Linked DNA regions of Homo sapiens: region 2 is linked to region 1. The links are contacts of gene promoters, found by promoter capture Hi-C in human tissues and cell types (Jung and others, 2019). All regions are on one chromosome and are shown on one strand. Each heading gives the region's core, a stretch centred on a gene start or on the middle of the fragment in contact. The rest is flanking DNA. Distances are from core to core; before and after follow the strand shown. Region 1 holds the start of SMARCD1 (SWI/SNF related BAF chromatin remodeling complex subunit D1). Region 2 overlaps FAM186A (family with sequence similarity 186 member A).

Region 1 (4,249 bases), core at 514-3,013:
ATGCCTCTGGTCTAATAAACTGGGTTTCAACCATCTCCTCTTCAGTGTTGTTCTCTTATTTGAAAAAGTATTTAGATATTCTCACTAAGTGCCTAAAGCTGAGCTTGGTTTGGGGCCAATTAGGGGATGAGTAAGGAGAAGGTTTGAGTAGGGACACTGTGGTCCCCCTGGGATGGGACAGGCTGACCATTATATCAGGAATAGTTTGAACCACTGGGCAGGGAAAGAGGGAGAAGTCAAAGGCAACAAAGTTCCAAAACAGAATCCCCAATACAAAGGATGCTTTAGAGAGAGAGAGCAGAGTCAAAATTCAAGATAAACTGGAACTTATCATAAAATCTGGAAGCAGGCTGGCACGGTGGCTCATGCCCGTAATCCCAACACTTTGGGAGGCTGAGACAGGTGGATCACTTGCGGCCAGGAGTTCGAGATCAGCCTATGCAACATAGTGAAACCCCCATCCCTATTTTTTTTTTCTTTTTTGAGATGGAGTCTCGCTCTGTCGCCCAGGCTGGAGTGCAGTGGCGCGATCTCGGCTCACTGCAAGCTCCGCCTCCCGGGTTCACACCATTCCCCTGCCTCAGCCTCCCGAGTAGCTGGGACTACAGGCGCCCGCCACCACGCCCGGCTAATTTTTTTGTGTTTTTAGTAGAGACGGGGTTTCACCGTGTTAGCCAGGATGGTCTCGATCTCCTGACCTCATGATCCACCCGCCTGGGCCTCCCAAGTGCTGGGATTACAGGCATGAGCCACCGTGCCCAGCCCCCCATCCCTATTTTTTAATATTTAAAAAAAAAAAAATCTGAGGCCAGGCACAATGGCTCACACCTGTAATCCCAGCATTTTGGGAGGCTGAGGAGCACAGATCGCTTGAGCTCAGGAGTTCGAGACCAACCTGGGCAACATGGCGAAACCCCATCCCTACCAAAAATACAAAACAGTCTGGCATGGTGGTGCATGCCTGTGGTCCCAGCTACTTGGTAGGCTGAGTTGGGAGGATCACTTGAGCCTGGGAGGCGGAGGTTGCAGTGAGCTGAGATGGTGCCACTGCACTCCAGCTTGGGCGAGAGAGAGACAGACCTCATCTAAAAAAAAATAAAAAATAAAAAATAATAATCCGGAAGCAGGTTAGGTCAGAGAGAAAGTTAGGATGAAGTTCCCACGTGAGGTACTTATTGAGGCACTTTATCTGTGGAATGAGTCCCGGGCTATGAGCAAGGGTATCTGGAATCTTGGCTTCGGCTTTATGGCTAACTTGCTGGTTGACCTTTGCCAAGTCATTCACCTGTGAGTTCAGCTTTCCCATTTGTAAAATGGAATAAACTGTGTTTCCCTCCTCAGCCCCTGATAGTTATAGCAGTAAGAAAACGAAACGAAAAGCAGTCAAAGCGTTTTGGAAAGTTAACGCCATGCGCCAAGATGAAGCTATTACTCCAAGCCCCTCTTCATCAGAGGGCTCGAGTTGGGGTTGAGACTGGGGCTGAGGCTGTGGTCCGTCCCCCTTTCCAGGTCCTTGTCTTCCTCCCGTCGGCCTGGGGGCGCCCGCTCACGCGGCCTCTCTATTGCAGAGCTCTTCTCTATGGTTTTCCCTCCCGGACCGTGAAGGCGGGAGGGCGTGGCCAGCACGCCTTTTCCGCTAGTCGCCCCGCTCTATCCCATAGTCTCGCTGCCCTGAGCCTCCCGTGCCGGCCGGCCGGCCGGGGGAACAGGCGGGCGCTCGGGGGGCGCTCGGGGGGCGGGGGGAGTTCCGGTTCCGGTTCTTTGTGCGGCTGCATCGGCGGCTCCGGGAAGATGGCGGCCCGGGCGGGTTTCCAGTCTGTGGCTCCAAGCGGCGGCGCCGGAGCCTCAGGAGGGGCGGGCGCGGCTGCTGCCTTGGGCCCGGGCGGAACTCCGGGGCCTCCTGTGCGAATGGGCCCGGCTCCGGGTCAAGGGCTGTACCGCTCCCCGATGCCCGGAGCGGCCTATCCGGTGAGTGGGGCAGGAGGAGGGGCGCGCGGGCCGGGGGCGGGGCCGAGCGGGGACATGGGAGTGACAGGGGTGGGGGGAGAAGTAGGAGGGACTCCCTTGGGAGGGGTTCGGGCTCTGGGTGGGGGTTGGGGGAGGCAGTGCGCAGAAAGAGAGGGGGAGGCAGTTACACACCTGCTCCTAGGGGCATTGTTTCCCTGGGGAGTCGGTAGAGAACCTGGGTGGGTGAAGTGGGTCCAGGGATACCTGTATGAGGGCCGGAGTGCAAAGGGGCTTGAGCAGCTCCAGTGATCAGAGGAACACAGAACGTGTAGCTGACAAATTGAGGTCAGCTTCTAAAGAGATAGTAGCTAGCAGAGTAAATGTGGAACTGGCGATGTCCGATGTGTCCCATCCAAAATAGACTGAGAATTTGAGTATAATCTGGCTCTCGCTTAGCTTTTGGACTCTGTTTTTCTATGGAGTCACTACTGGAGCAAAGGGTTCTCCTCTCATTGTCCTCCATTCCATCCCTAAACCTTACTTCATTCAAAGATCTCAGGCGTTCCCTGCTTTTCTTTCTTGATGGGGTTTAGCAGGTGAAACCATGACATCTCTGGGTCCTCTCCCCTCTGTAGAGACCAGGTATGTTGCCAGGCAGCCGAATGACACCTCAGGGACCTTCCATGGGACCCCCTGGCTATGGGGGGAACCCTTCAGTCCGACCTGGCCTGGCCCAGTCAGGGATGGATCAGTCCCGCAAGAGACCTGCCCCTCAGCAGATCCAGCAGGTCCAGCAGCAGGCGGTCCAAAATCGAAACCACAAGTAAGATGATCCTGGGGCAGAGGGAGGGAGGGAGGGAGCCTGGGAGGACACAGGTGGTGGGAGTACCTGAACCAAGAAGTGGTGGTGCTGTGTCAGCAGATGGTGCTACAGAACTCATCCTTGAGAATGCTTGGTGGTGGTGGTGGTGGTGGTAGTTCTTTGAGAGAAGCTTTGCAGTCCCTTCACATTACTATAAATGGACGTGCTGACAGCTTATTTTCACGTTCTGACTAGTTCTGTCCCAACCTGATAATAGTATTTATTCCCAACAGTGCAAAGAAAAAGAAGATGGCTGACAAAATTCTACCTCAAAGGGTGAGTCCAGGCTATATGTCTTCTGGAAAGTGTGGTGAGTTTGAGTATAGAGATGATCATCCTAGATTTCAATTAATTTTTCTGTTCCTAAGATTCGTGAACTGGTACCAGAATCCCAGGCCTATATGGATCTCTTGGCTTTTGAAAGGAAACTGGACCAGACTATCATGAGGAAACGGCTAGATATCCAAGAGGCCTTGAAACGTCCCATCAAGGTAACACAGGAAAGTACTAGGCAGAGAGCCAAAGGAGAGGACCCAGGAACCTTCAGCAGAATTAGGATGAGAAATCAAAGGCACAGCACAACTCTCCTTGGCATTTAAATTGCATCTCTCCCTTCCGCCTACAAACTGAGAATTACATTAGGAGGATAAGAACAGAATGGCAAAGGGGGAGGGGCTCTTGATGTCTCTTGCACTACAAATATACCCTTGTCCATGTTTTCGCTGTAACTGCTCTGCTACCTTGGGAACCTGGCACCTTGCATGACTTTGTCCACCTGGCATCCCACTATATGCACTTGTACTTAGGCTGATGGCCAGTACTCCTCTTCTAAATGGAATCTTCATCCACCCACCCAAGGGACTGGGTAGACAGTAAGCCAGTCTGTTAGGAGTAATTTTGGGGTTTGGGGAGACCGTTGTCTTCAACATCAGACCACTGAAGCCCCACGATCAATCCTGTTTCTGCCTTCCTCAGCAAAAACGGAAGCTGCGAATTTTCATTTCTAACACTTTCAATCCGGCTAAGTCAGATGCCGAGGATGGGGAAGGGACGGTGGCTTCCTGGGAGCTTCGGGTAGAAGGACGGCTCCTGGAGGATGTGAGTTCAAGGTCCACAATGGTTGGCATCTAGGGTGGGAGCTGCTGGGAATGAACAGTGTTGTCTGGTCAGCAGGAAGCCTAACTGGTGCTCACAGCTCCTTTTGGGAGCAGTAAGGAGAGGGACACTGTTCCCTGCACTGAAAGACAGTGGTCCTTTGTGTTTGCCCCCACACCTTTGGCCCTCACTGGTATCATATGGAGAACCTTATTGTCCTGGGATCTGATTTGTGGTTTACCTTCCTCTTGGTGCTGCTGGCCATTGGATTTAGCCATATCTGTAGATTATTTAGTTTTTTTTTTTTAATCGAGTTTGCACTTAATTTGAGGCTGTGTTTCCTCT
Region 2 (4,065 bases), core at 1,379-3,878, 270 kb after region 1:
CCTGGTCTCATTCTTTTTTTATGCCATCTCCCATTTTAAAAATCATACATTTCTGGTGAACCAAAAATGATGAAAGAAATTCAGAATAACTGGAAACTTTTGAAATTGATGTTTTGGAGACCAACCATGATCCACAAAATATACTTGGCATCTCCGCTGGAGATATATATGGATGAAATGGATCACGTTATATGTCATTTCTTATTTTCCAAAAAATATATCTCCTTTTGCTATCTTAAACAAGCTTCCTTCCCATAGACCTTATATAAGGCAGTCCTTTAGAACATATGGCCTGACAAATATGAATATACTTCTGGGACAATGACAGAAAATATTTGCAATCAGAACTAAACCAGAAAACTAGACGTAAATAATTATATCTACCTGGCATGCTGGATCAGCCTATAGGCAATGTACTTGCGGAATAAGTATCCCAACTGAACTGTGTCCATATGAAGTATCTCAATTATGAGAGTCCTAGCCATTGTGTGTAGCTGTGAAGGGAGTCCACAAGTTTTTATAGCCTGATTTAATAGTATCAGGTTCTTCTTCTGAGCCTCCACATCAACAAAATACCTCTTTTCTTCAAGTTCTTGAGGAGAGGAAGGGGGCACCATTACTTTGGGTTTCTTGGTATCTGAAACTGAACTCAGTATCCAGGGCTTGTCTATAGGAGGGAATCGGGATTTCTGGTACCATTCCAAAGGTGAAATCTGTGATGTTCTGAGTAGAGTAGTGAGAGAAGATGGTGATGTTGTTGGCTTCATGAGAGTGAGAAGGGCCCTTTCATCAGTGTAAGGGGTTTGGTATACTGGTGTCCTATATTTGGTGAAATGGGACTGAAATGTTCTAAATGATTCTATAGCAAAAGTGTCTCGAAGTATCTGGGTTTCTTCGGAAGTGTCAGAGACCTCCGACATTTGGAACTTCTTAGTGGTGAAAGGAACTTGAGCTACCTTGAAATCTGGAGCACTAGGATGGATCAATACTGATTTAGATTTCAGAGAAGAAATAATTGCCAATCTTTTCTTAGCAACAGAAGGGGACCAACTTTTCTGGGGCTTTCCAGGGGCTGGGGACGGCCATAGTGTGGGAGGATGTCTAGAGGTGGGAGGGATCCATAATGAAGAAGCTCGCCCAGGAAGGGTCCATGTTGCCAGATGCTGCCCAGGGGTAGAAGGAGCCTGCAGATAGGGAGATTGCTCAGCAGTGGCAGGAGGCTGGAATTCCTGGAGCTGCTCAGAGAAGGTTAAGGGTCCAGATTCCAGGAGGTCCCCAGGGATGGAAGAGGCTTCAGGAACTAAGGGCTGCCCAGGAGAAAGAGGAGCCCAGAGACTTGGAATCTGTCCAGAAGTGGGTGGAACTCCAGCTATAAAGGGCTGCCCTGGAGTGGGAGGGGCCCGAGATATTGGGAGCTGCCCAGGGGAGGGAGGGGCCTGTGGTGCCGGGAACTGCGCAGAAGTGGATTGACCTCCGTATACCAGGGTCTGTCCAGAGGAACGAAGAGTCTGTGGTGCCCCAAGCTTCCCAGGCTCAGAAAGAATCCCCATTTCTAGGGGCTTCCCAGGGGCAAAGGGGCCTTGGTTGAGGGGAACCCTTGATATCTGCAAAGGAGTAGAAGAGACCCCGAATATAGAGGACTTCTCAGCAGTAGGAGCTGATGATGCCAGGGACAGCCTAAGACTTGGAGACAATCTTGATATGATGGATTGCCCAGTGGGGAGAGAAGCCTTCGATTTCTGAAATGGTCTATGGGACCACTGGACTTGCTTAAGGGTGAGGGGCGATCCCAAGGTATGGGCTTTATCTAAGGTGAGAGGAACCCCTAACTTCAATAACTGTTCTTGAGCCTGTTCTAAGTTCATAGGGGACTCCAAAGCGTGGGTTTGCTCAGAGGTAAGAGTGACAGCTGACACCCAGGCATTTACTGGGGTGATGGGGACTCCCAGTGCCTGGGCCTGCTGAGGGGTGAGAGTGATCCCCTGAGCCTGCGCCTGCTGAGGGGTGAGAGAGATCCCCAGAGCCTGGGCCTGCTGAGGGGTGAGAGGGATCCCCTGAGCCTGCGCCTGCTGAGGGGTGAGAGGGATCCCCAGTTCCTGCGCCTGCTGAGGGGTGAGAGGGATCCCCAGTTCCTGCGCCTGCTGAGGGGTGAGAGGGATCCCCAGGGCCTGGGCCTGCTGAGGGGTGAGAGGGATCTCCAATTCCTGAGCCTGCGGAGGGATGAGAGGGATCCCCAGGGCCTGGACCTGCTGAGGGGTGAGAGGGATCCCCAATTCCTGAGCCTGCGGAGGGATCAGAGGGATCCCCAGGGCCTGGGCCTGCTGAGGGGTGAGAGGGATCCCCAATTCCTGAGCCTGCGGAGGGATGAGAAGGATCCCCAGGGCCTGGGCCTGCTGAGGGGTGAGAGGGATCCCCAATTCCTGAGCCTGCGGAGGGATGAGAGGGATCCCCAGGGCCTGGGCCTGCTGAGGGGTGAGAGGGATCCCCAATTCCTGAGCCTGCTGAGGGGTGAGAGTGATCCCCAGCTCCTGAGCCTGCTGAGCGGTGAGAGGCATCCCCAGGGCCTGGGCCTGCTGAGGGGTGAGAGTGATCTCCTGAGCCTGTGCCTGCTGAGGGGTGAAAGGGATCCCCAATTCCTGAGCCTGCTGAGGGGTGAGAGGGATCCCCAGTTCCTGAGCCTGCTGAGTGGTGAGAGGCATCCCCAAGGCCTGAGCCTGCTGAGGGGTGAGAGGGATCCCCAGTTCCTGAGCCTGCTGAGTGGTGAGAGGCATCCCCAAGGCCTGAGCGTGCTGAGGGGTGAGAGGGATCCCCAGTTCCTGAGCCTGCTGAGTGGTGAGAGGCATCCCCAAGGCCTGGGCCTGCTGAGGGGTGAGAGTGATCTCCTGAGTCTGCGCCTGCTGAGGGGTGAGAGGGATCCCCAGGGCCTGCGCCTGCTGAGGGGTGAAAGGGATCCCCAGAGCCTGTGCCTGCTTAGGGGTGAGAGGGATCCCCAGGGTCTGGGCCTGCTGAGGGTTGAGAGGGATCCCCAATTCCTGAGCCTGCTTAGGGGTGAGAGTGATCCCCAGGGCCTGGGCCTGCTGAGGAGTAAGAGGGATCCCCAGTTCCTGAACCTGCTTAGGGGTGAGAGTGATTCCGAGAGCCTGCGCCTGCTGAGGGGTGAGAGGGATCCCCAATTGCTGGGCCTGCTGAAGGGTTAGAGTGATCCCCAGGGCCTGGGCCTGCTGAGGGGTGAGAGGGATCCCCAATTCCTGAGCCTGCTGAGGGGTGAGAGAGACCCTCAGGGCCTGGGCCTGCTGAGGGGTGAGAGGGATCCCCAATTCCTGAGCCTGCTGAGGGGTGAGAGGGATCCCCAGGGCCTGGGCCTGCTGAGGGGTAAGAGGGATCCCTAGTTTCTGAGCCTGCTGAGTGGTGAGAGAGATCCCCGGGGCCTGGTCCTGCTGAGGGGTGAGAGTGATCCCTTGAACCTGGGTCTGCTGAGGGGTGAGAGGGATCCCCAGGGCCTGCGCCTGCTGAGGGGTGAAAAGGATCTCCAGGGCCTGGGCCTGCTGAGGGGTGAGAGGGATCCCTAGTTCCTGGGCCTGCTGAAGGGTGAGCGTGATCCCCTGAGCCTGGGCCTGCTGAGGAGTGAGTGTGATCCCCACTTCCTGGGCCTGCTGAGGTGTGAGATGAATGCATTTAGTGAGAGGCTGGCCAGAAATAGGAAGAGCTCCAGGCAGGGAGTATTGTAGGGAGGGGGGAGGTGTGATTGATATGGGCTCCTTTTCATCAGGAAGGTTCTCTAATGTCTTCAGATTCCTCTGAAACTCTTTTCCTTCATATGACCGCTGTACATCTTTCAATACACTCTTCCACCTGGGAGATAATGTCATTGGAGTTTGGATGACCATTTTTTCTAGCTCTTTAGGTTGTGTTTCCTTCATCTGCATCTGATCCTTTGTTTTGATCTGCCTTTCGAGGTCCTCTAGCCCTCTCTCTGGCTTCTGCTTTTCCTTCCCTTTCTCCCTTCTCCTGTGTGGCCCCAAATGTTTCGCTTCCTTCTGAATCTGCCTCATCTGTCCATTCTCC

The links. The method cuts DNA at HindIII sites, captures the fragments that hold promoters and counts their contacts. A contact is called where the count stands out against the background at its distance.
Region 2: a contact is called between a fragment that was not itself captured here and the fragment with the promoter of SMARCD1 in region 1, in 1 of the 25 tissues and cell types used here (aorta).

What each region holds. Positions count from the first base shown.
Region 1 is chr12:50,083,579-50,087,827 of GRCh38, forward strand. SMARCD1 (SWI/SNF related BAF chromatin remodeling complex subunit D1) reads left to right here and starts at 1,764. Exons shown (of 13, transcript NM_003076.5): 1 at 1,764-1,968; 2 at 2,583-2,770; 3 at 3,043-3,085; 4 at 3,178-3,300; 5 at 3,785-3,907. The coding sequence starts at 1,792. It overlaps ASIC1 (acid sensing ion channel subunit 1), which reads left to right. Exons shown (of 12, transcript NM_001095.4): 12 at 1-33. RefSeq lists enhancers at 257-989, 1,347-1,606, 2,456-3,187 and a silencer at 1,677-2,116. The HindIII fragment of the contact is 20,407 bases long and covers 1-4,249 here.
Region 2 is chr12:50,349,945-50,354,009 of GRCh38, forward strand. It overlaps FAM186A (family with sequence similarity 186 member A), which reads right to left. Exons shown (of 8, transcript NM_001145475.3): 4 at 385-4,065. Among named protein-coding and RNA genes, the nearest start is that of FAM186A, 45 kb to the right of the region's middle. The HindIII fragment of the contact is 3,491 bases long and covers 884-4,065 here.